2 separate regions of the Homo sapiens genome follow, and region 1 is linked to region 2. Evidence: promoter capture Hi-C in human tissues and cell types (Jung and others, 2019). All regions are on one chromosome and are shown on one strand. The core of a region is centred on a gene start or on the middle of the fragment in contact, and the rest is flanking DNA. Distances in the headings are between cores, read along the strand shown.

Region 1 (3,541 bases), core at 305-2,804, 42 kb before region 2:
AGGTTTGCCTGTATTTGCATTAAATCAGATAAACCAGAAGTATTTGTCTCTCTTCTACCTGTGCTAGACCTATTAATCCATACAAATCCAGTTTGACAAGTCAACAATCAAAAGTTTTACTTTAATTTCACCCTTTCTTGGTTGTTACTGTACATGTGGTTTACAAAGAAAAGGGAAGATGGAGCCACCATTTTGAACAGGCATAGTCCCCAGGCAACCCCTTTTCCTACTGGCATAGCGTGGGGGTTGTAAGACAATACATTCAAGCTTATGTACAAGGCATTTGAGGTTGAGGCATGGAAAAATACTGAGGCACTGTGTGTATGTTGTTTGTGCATGAGACTGTAATTCCTTGACCCTGAAAACAGGACAAGGAACAGAATGTGTGATAAAGAGTGCTGAACACAGCCTCCTAAGAATGTGGTTTGAGTGCTTTTAGATGTTATAAACAAGGCCATATGTGCCTCATGACCCGAATCCAAATAGCCACCTGGTGGATGTTTCTTGTTTGTCTAAATTGTAGTTCAACAAGCCTTCTCAATAAATACTTGGCGGATGAATCTTAAAGCAACACTCCATTGGAGGAGCTGCTCCCTTCCCCGTTCAGCTGTAATTGTCTGAATATTTATTTCTCGGCATTCACTGCAGAACAAGCTGCAAGTGGTGACTCGGACGTGATCAAGTGGTGACTCGGACATGATCAAGTGGTGACTCCGACGTGATTGCCTTGAAGTTATGCATGGAGTAGGATGACTCACCAATCTTCGGGGAATACCGGTAAGGGACAGTCCCTACCCATTTTCAGGAGGACAGCACCGACGTCTATAATACCAGGGGTCGGGTTACCATGGATCAGGAGTTGTCCAAAGAGCAGAAAGTATTTTTTAAAACGGTGCAACATTTACTTAAGGTTATTCAGTGCACCATAGAGTCTGAAGCTTTGCATAAGCTTATGTTTTTAATTCGGCAGGAATGCCCTTGGTTCCCTGACCAAGGAACATTAGACTTAGAGTTATGGGAGCAGGCAGATTGCTGCCTGAAAAGAGGATTTGAGCAGGTCCATTTTACTAATGTTACCGTTTTGATCACCTGGAGTCTGGCATGTTCTGTGTTGTACCCTCTTTATATGCCAGATCGTGGTGAGTCAGATTGCCCATTTTCTTCACCTGAAGGGAATTCGGAAAATTTAAAGGAAAAGGGGACACAGAAAGCAGAACAACAGGAAGGAGTTCCTCCCCCAACTTCACTCCCTTCAGTAGGGCATAAAGAAGACACTTTTTCTAGTGATGATGAGGACGGACTGGAGCCTTTTCCTCTCTCAATAGAAAAGCCATTGCCCTCTTTTCCTCCACCCTTCACACGACCTGCATCTGTTGGCCCCATTCAGGCAATAGCACCTCCCATCCCCCTTGAGTAGATTGGAGGCCGTCCAAGGGACTGTTCTTGGATAAGACCTCCAGGCAGTGAACATTTATATGACTGGATGGCCGTGTCCCCTCAAAAAACCTCCCTACTAGAAGGATGCCTCCAGGAGGGACTGAGGAAGGAAGATCCTGAGGCGCTTTTTAGTGCATTCCCTGTCATTGTTCAAAATAATAGGAGACGGCATGAGCGCTTGCCTTTTATTGTCTTTAAGGAATTAAAAAGAAGTATCTGCAAAAATGGTGTACATTCACCCTTTACGCAGGGGATGGTTGAGGCTCTGGGAAATGGTTATGAGATGGCTGTGCATGACTGGAAAACTCTGGGAAAAGTTTTGGCTTCAGCTGCTGAATATACTGTGTGGTGGAGAGAGTACAGTGATCTAGCCATGCAGCAATCCTTGCAAAATTTGGATAATATCCTGATACAGCTTGATATGTATGCTGTTGGAGACAGGGCCTTTTGCTTCAGCTCAGGCTTAGGCTCAGGTGGATGGCCGTCTATTTCCTCAATGCTCACAGCTAGCGATACAGGCATGGAAGAGGATACTCATGGGACAATTCCAGAGTTCCTTTGTGATGGTTAAACAGGGTGCCACAGAAACATATGTTGAATTTATCAACCGATTGCAGGCTGCAATTGAAAGACAGGTACCTCATCCTGAAGTCGCTAAACTTCTTATGTTGCAATTGGCTTTTGAAAATGCAATAAGGATTGTCAGGCAGCAATAACCCTAGTCTGAGCCACTGCCACTGAAATCGGTGTGTTTATTAAAACGTGCCAGAATGTAGGCACTTACAACTTATCTGGCTCAGACTTTTGCTGCAGTGATGACTGGGGCCACATGTTATAATTGTGGCCAAACTGGGCATATGGCCAAAGAATGCCAACAGAAGGGAGTCCCAAAGAAATCAAAGGCCCCTAAAATACCCTCTCAAGAATGCCTGCGATTCAGCAAAGGTAAGCACTGGGCTAATCAGTGAAATTCAAAATTTGATAAGGATGAAACCCATTATTGGGAAACGGGAAGAGGGGCAAGACCTCCAATGCCCAGAAAAATCCATGGAGGAACACCAATTCCCAGACTTGGGGAATGACTTTCCCCTCTGAGTCAGGACCAGAAATAGCATCCATAACCTCTCTTCAGCCACCTCTGGCAGCGCAGGGCTGGACCTCACAGTCATATCAGATATGGTGCTTAAAGAGCAAGATGGGGTCCAGCTGATTTCTACTGGAATCTATGGCCCATTACCCAGAGGAACGTTTGGATTGATTATCAGAAGTACACTTCAAGGAATTCAAATTTTCTCTGGAGTCATAGATTCAGACTATTTAGCAGAAATTAAAGTTATGGCACAGGTGTCAGGGGTCCATGCCATCTCTAAAGGGACTTGCCTTGCTCAGATTATTCTTACTCCTTACCTTCAAGTAATGTTCAACAGACCTGTGGGGCCTCAGGATTCGGCCACTCAGGCATGAAGGTTTTTTGGAGTACTCCAGTGTCATGTCATAGACCATACTTAGAAGTAACAATTAATGGAGTTATGTTTATGAGAATTGTTGACATGGGGGCTCATCAAACTATAATAGCTAAAAGACAGTGGCCTTCAGATTGGGCCTCTCCTGCCTGATGTTCTGTCATGGGTGTTGGAGGGTATCAACAGCCATTAAAAAGTAGGCATATTCTTCCACTTTTGGGCCCGGAAGGCAAGGTCACCCATGTTCAGCCCTTTATCTTAAGAGATTCTATTTTCTCTGTGGTAATGAGATGGCCTAGAACAGTGGGGCTTAAACCTCTCTGTCCTGCCCCCTTTTTGGTAGGGGCCACTGCTCCTTTGAAAAGTATCAAAACCAAGTGGAAAACTACTAGCCTGCTATGGGTGGAGAAGTGGCCCATTAAGAAGGAAAAATTGCAACACATCCAATGTCTCGTACAAGAACAACTAGACACGGGCCACATTGAGCCTACTACTAGTCCCTGGAACACTCCTATTTTACCATTCTAAAAAGGTCAGGAAAGTGGAGGTTATTGCATCACCTCTGTGCTATTAATGCTGTAATGTTTCCTATGGGGCCTTTGCAACCAGGATTACCTTCTCCAGTTATGATCCCCAAAGAC
Region 2 (3,212 bases), core at 693-3,192:
CTATGAAGTTTCCAAAAAAAAAAAAATCTTGACCCAAAAACATTCTAAGATATCTGTGACTAGGTAAAATAAAAGAAAAAAACACAGATATTTTACAATAGTGTCAGATTATTCTTTGCTTTATTCTCGTAGGAAATATTTAGAAAAAAAATCATTGTAAATGTGCCATCAAATGCTTTGTCAAAAAATAATTAATTCACCAGGCACGGTAGCTCACATGTGTAATCCCAGCTCTTTGGGAGGCCGAGGCAGGAGGATGACTTGAAACCAGAAGTTCAAGACCAGCCTGGCCAACATAGTGAAACCCCGTCTCTACTAAAACTACAAAAATTAGCCAGGCGTGGTGCCAGGCATCTGTAATTCCAGCTACTTGGGAGACAGAAATGAGAACCGTTTGAGCCCAGGAGGCGGAGGCTGCAGTGAGCCTAAGTCATGCCACTGCACTCCAGCCACTGCACTGCAACAGAGCAAGGCTCTGTCTCAAATACTTTTAAAAAAAAAAAAAGATTCATTAAAATAGGTATCAATATGTACACTAAAGGACAAATAGTTGATAAAGTCAATTAGAGAGGAGAAACTGGCATTTGGCAACGTCAGACAAAACTGGAAATTTAGTATTTTACTGCAAGCCAGTCAGGCTGGAGGAATAAGGGATGAGGGGCAGACTTGAGGCCCTGCTTGGGACACTTGTGAAAAATTCAGGGAAAAAATCAGTCCCCTGTGGAGTGTGAAAACCATTAAGTGGCAGGAAATTAGATTGAGGTGGCTCTAGTCCCTGGATTTCTACTTCTAAAAAAAAAGTCTAAACTCAAGAGCATTTTTTTGTAAATTACTACATTGGCAGAAACAAAATTCAGGCTTAACGCTTAACCAACTATAAACTGCCAATTAAGCTCTGATTACATAACCATGATATTTCCACCTTGATTGTAAAAATTAAGAACTAGGACGGGGGCAGTGGCTCACGCCTGTAATCCCAGAACTTTGGAAGGCCGAGGTGGGTGGATCACCTGAGGTCAGGAGATCGAGACCTGCCTGACCAACACGGTGAAACCCCCGTCTCCGCTAAAAATAAAAAAAATTGCCAAATGTGGTGGCAGGCGCCTGTAGTCCCAACTACTAGGGAGGCTGAGGCAGAAAAATCGCTTGAACCCGGGAGGTGGAGGTTGCAGTGAGCCGAGATCACGAAACTGCACTTCAGCCTGGGCAACAGAGACTCTGCCTCAAAAAAAAAAGAAAATGAAAACAAAACAACAACAACAAAATAACAACAAAATCTACATAACCGTACCTAGCCAATTACGGAATTTGGTTTTATGATGAAACTTATAAAAACCTTTCCTTCCATGGAATACAAATTAGAAACCACAGCAAGGTGCTCTAAAATTTTTGAATCACACTTTAAATTATTTAATGTTTTTGCAGTGAGGCCCATAAATTTTTAATAGGAAAAAATGGCCTGAAAACCCCACGGACCAAAGCTCTTCCCATTCATGAGCCCGCACCCGGAGTCAGGATTCTGCCCTGACGTTCCTCCCATGGTCCCTGCACAATCTGGGAGAGACGCGGGGCTACTGGTGCAGAGCTGCCCAAAGAGGGCTCCAGGCCAGGGCACAGTCACTGCGCAGTGAAGAGACAGAACGCCCGGGAGCCCGGCTGTCAGCGCAGCCGCCATCTTAAGGCTGAAGGGACTGAGGCCGAGCTGGGCAACAACTCGGGCGCAGATTGTAAAACTGACAGCGAGGAGGCCTGAGTCCCGCCACTGCCGCTTCCCACCGGTTCCAGCCAGCCCCGTTCCCTCTCTTGGGATGTCGCACCCGGCACTCTCACCATTTCTAGGCTTCCAGGGGGCAGGTCACAGGGCCACAGAGGCTGCGCCCCTAAAAGCAGAAGACACAGAGTAGTGAGGACGAGACCTGGAGCTCCGGCCGCAGATAGAGACAAAGGCCCCGCCAAATCCCGGAAGCCGCCCTGTTCGCTCCAGCTGCGTGCCTGATTGGACAGTTCCCAGGACAGCGTCTCTGATTGGATAACGTTTAAGAACCCCGCTTTCTAAGGCCCTGAGTGACAGAAGATGTCATCAGACGTTGGGCTGAATGAAGAAAGATTGACAGCCTAAGCCTCAGCCTTTTCAGGCGGGGCTTCCTCCCGGAGCTGAACGAGGCCCATCTCAGAACACGGAAAAATTTTCTCTCTTCTTTGCTGTCTTTTTTTCAACGTATTAAATATGTGAATAATTTTTTTTTTAGACAAAGTTTCGCTCTTGTTGTCCAGGCTGGAGTGCAATGGCGCGATCTCGGCTCACTGCAACCTTCGCCTTCCGGGATCAAGCGATTCTCCTGCCTCAGCCTCCATAGTAGCTGGGACTACAGGTGCACACAGCCACACCGGGCTAATTTTTGTTTTTTGGTTTTTTTTAGTAGAGATGGGGTTTCGCCACGTTAGCCAGGCTGGTTTCGAACTTCTGACCTCAGGAGATCCACCCGCCTCGACCTCCCAAAATGCTAGGATTACAGTCGTGAGCCACCATGCCTGGCCGACTCGATATTATCTTTAAAGCAAAATTAGGAATACCTTTATTCCCCAGATGTTGGAATATCTGGACACTCCTCCGTCTGGTTCTGCTTAGTAAACATTATTAATTCATTTCCTTAACCATAAATATCTAGAGGCTAGGAATGCCTAACTTACTGAGAATGCAGCCCAGCGAGTCTCAGCGTCATTTTCCTAGCTCTCTCTCAAAACGGAGTCGCTCTGGTTCAAATGATTCTGACATATTTTTCGCCTTCCTTTACAAGAGGACCCTTAATCCTAAGAGTTGCAGAGAGACAAAGATTCGTCTTCTGTAACTTTTTCAGGCTGATTAGGGGCGATAATATTCCTGCCTAACCATTGGTCTCTTGCATTCAGGGTAGAGAGAAATTCAGTCAGACAGTGTTGGTATGGTGAAGGTCGTTCATAACTTCTAGTTCCAAAAGAAGGTGATGTCTAGAAGATTAATAAGCGTCCAATTTAAGAAAGCATTTAGTGAGCTTGTCTTGCATTCCTACACAAAGAGTACAACCACAATATATTCCACAACAGCAAAGCAAAATTAGTAAAATTATTCCACGTAAACTAAACAGGAAAGCCTTTCAAGAAGTGGGCAGTTGTTAGAACCAAACTGATATATGGTTCACTGATAGCACATAAATGGCAGAGATGTGAGTGCA

The links. The method cuts DNA at HindIII sites, captures the fragments that hold promoters and counts their contacts. A contact is called where the count stands out against the background at its distance.
Region 1: a fragment that was not itself captured here is called in contact with the fragment with the promoter of ZNF726 in region 2 in 1 of the 25 tissues and cell types used here (pancreas).

The regions. Positions count from the first base shown.
Region 1 is chr19:23,954,967-23,958,507 of GRCh38, reverse strand. ZNF276-AS1 (ZNF276 antisense RNA 1) reads left to right here and starts at 555. Exons shown (of 3, transcript NR_149007.1): 1 at 555-777. The HindIII fragment of the contact is 3,248 bases long and covers 1-3,178 here.
Region 2 is chr19:23,913,616-23,916,827 of GRCh38, reverse strand. ZNF726 (zinc finger protein 726) reads right to left here and starts at 1,942. Exons shown (of 4, transcript NM_001244038.2): 1 at 1,831-1,942. The coding sequence starts at 1,833. The HindIII fragment of the contact is 4,279 bases long and covers 1-2,401 here.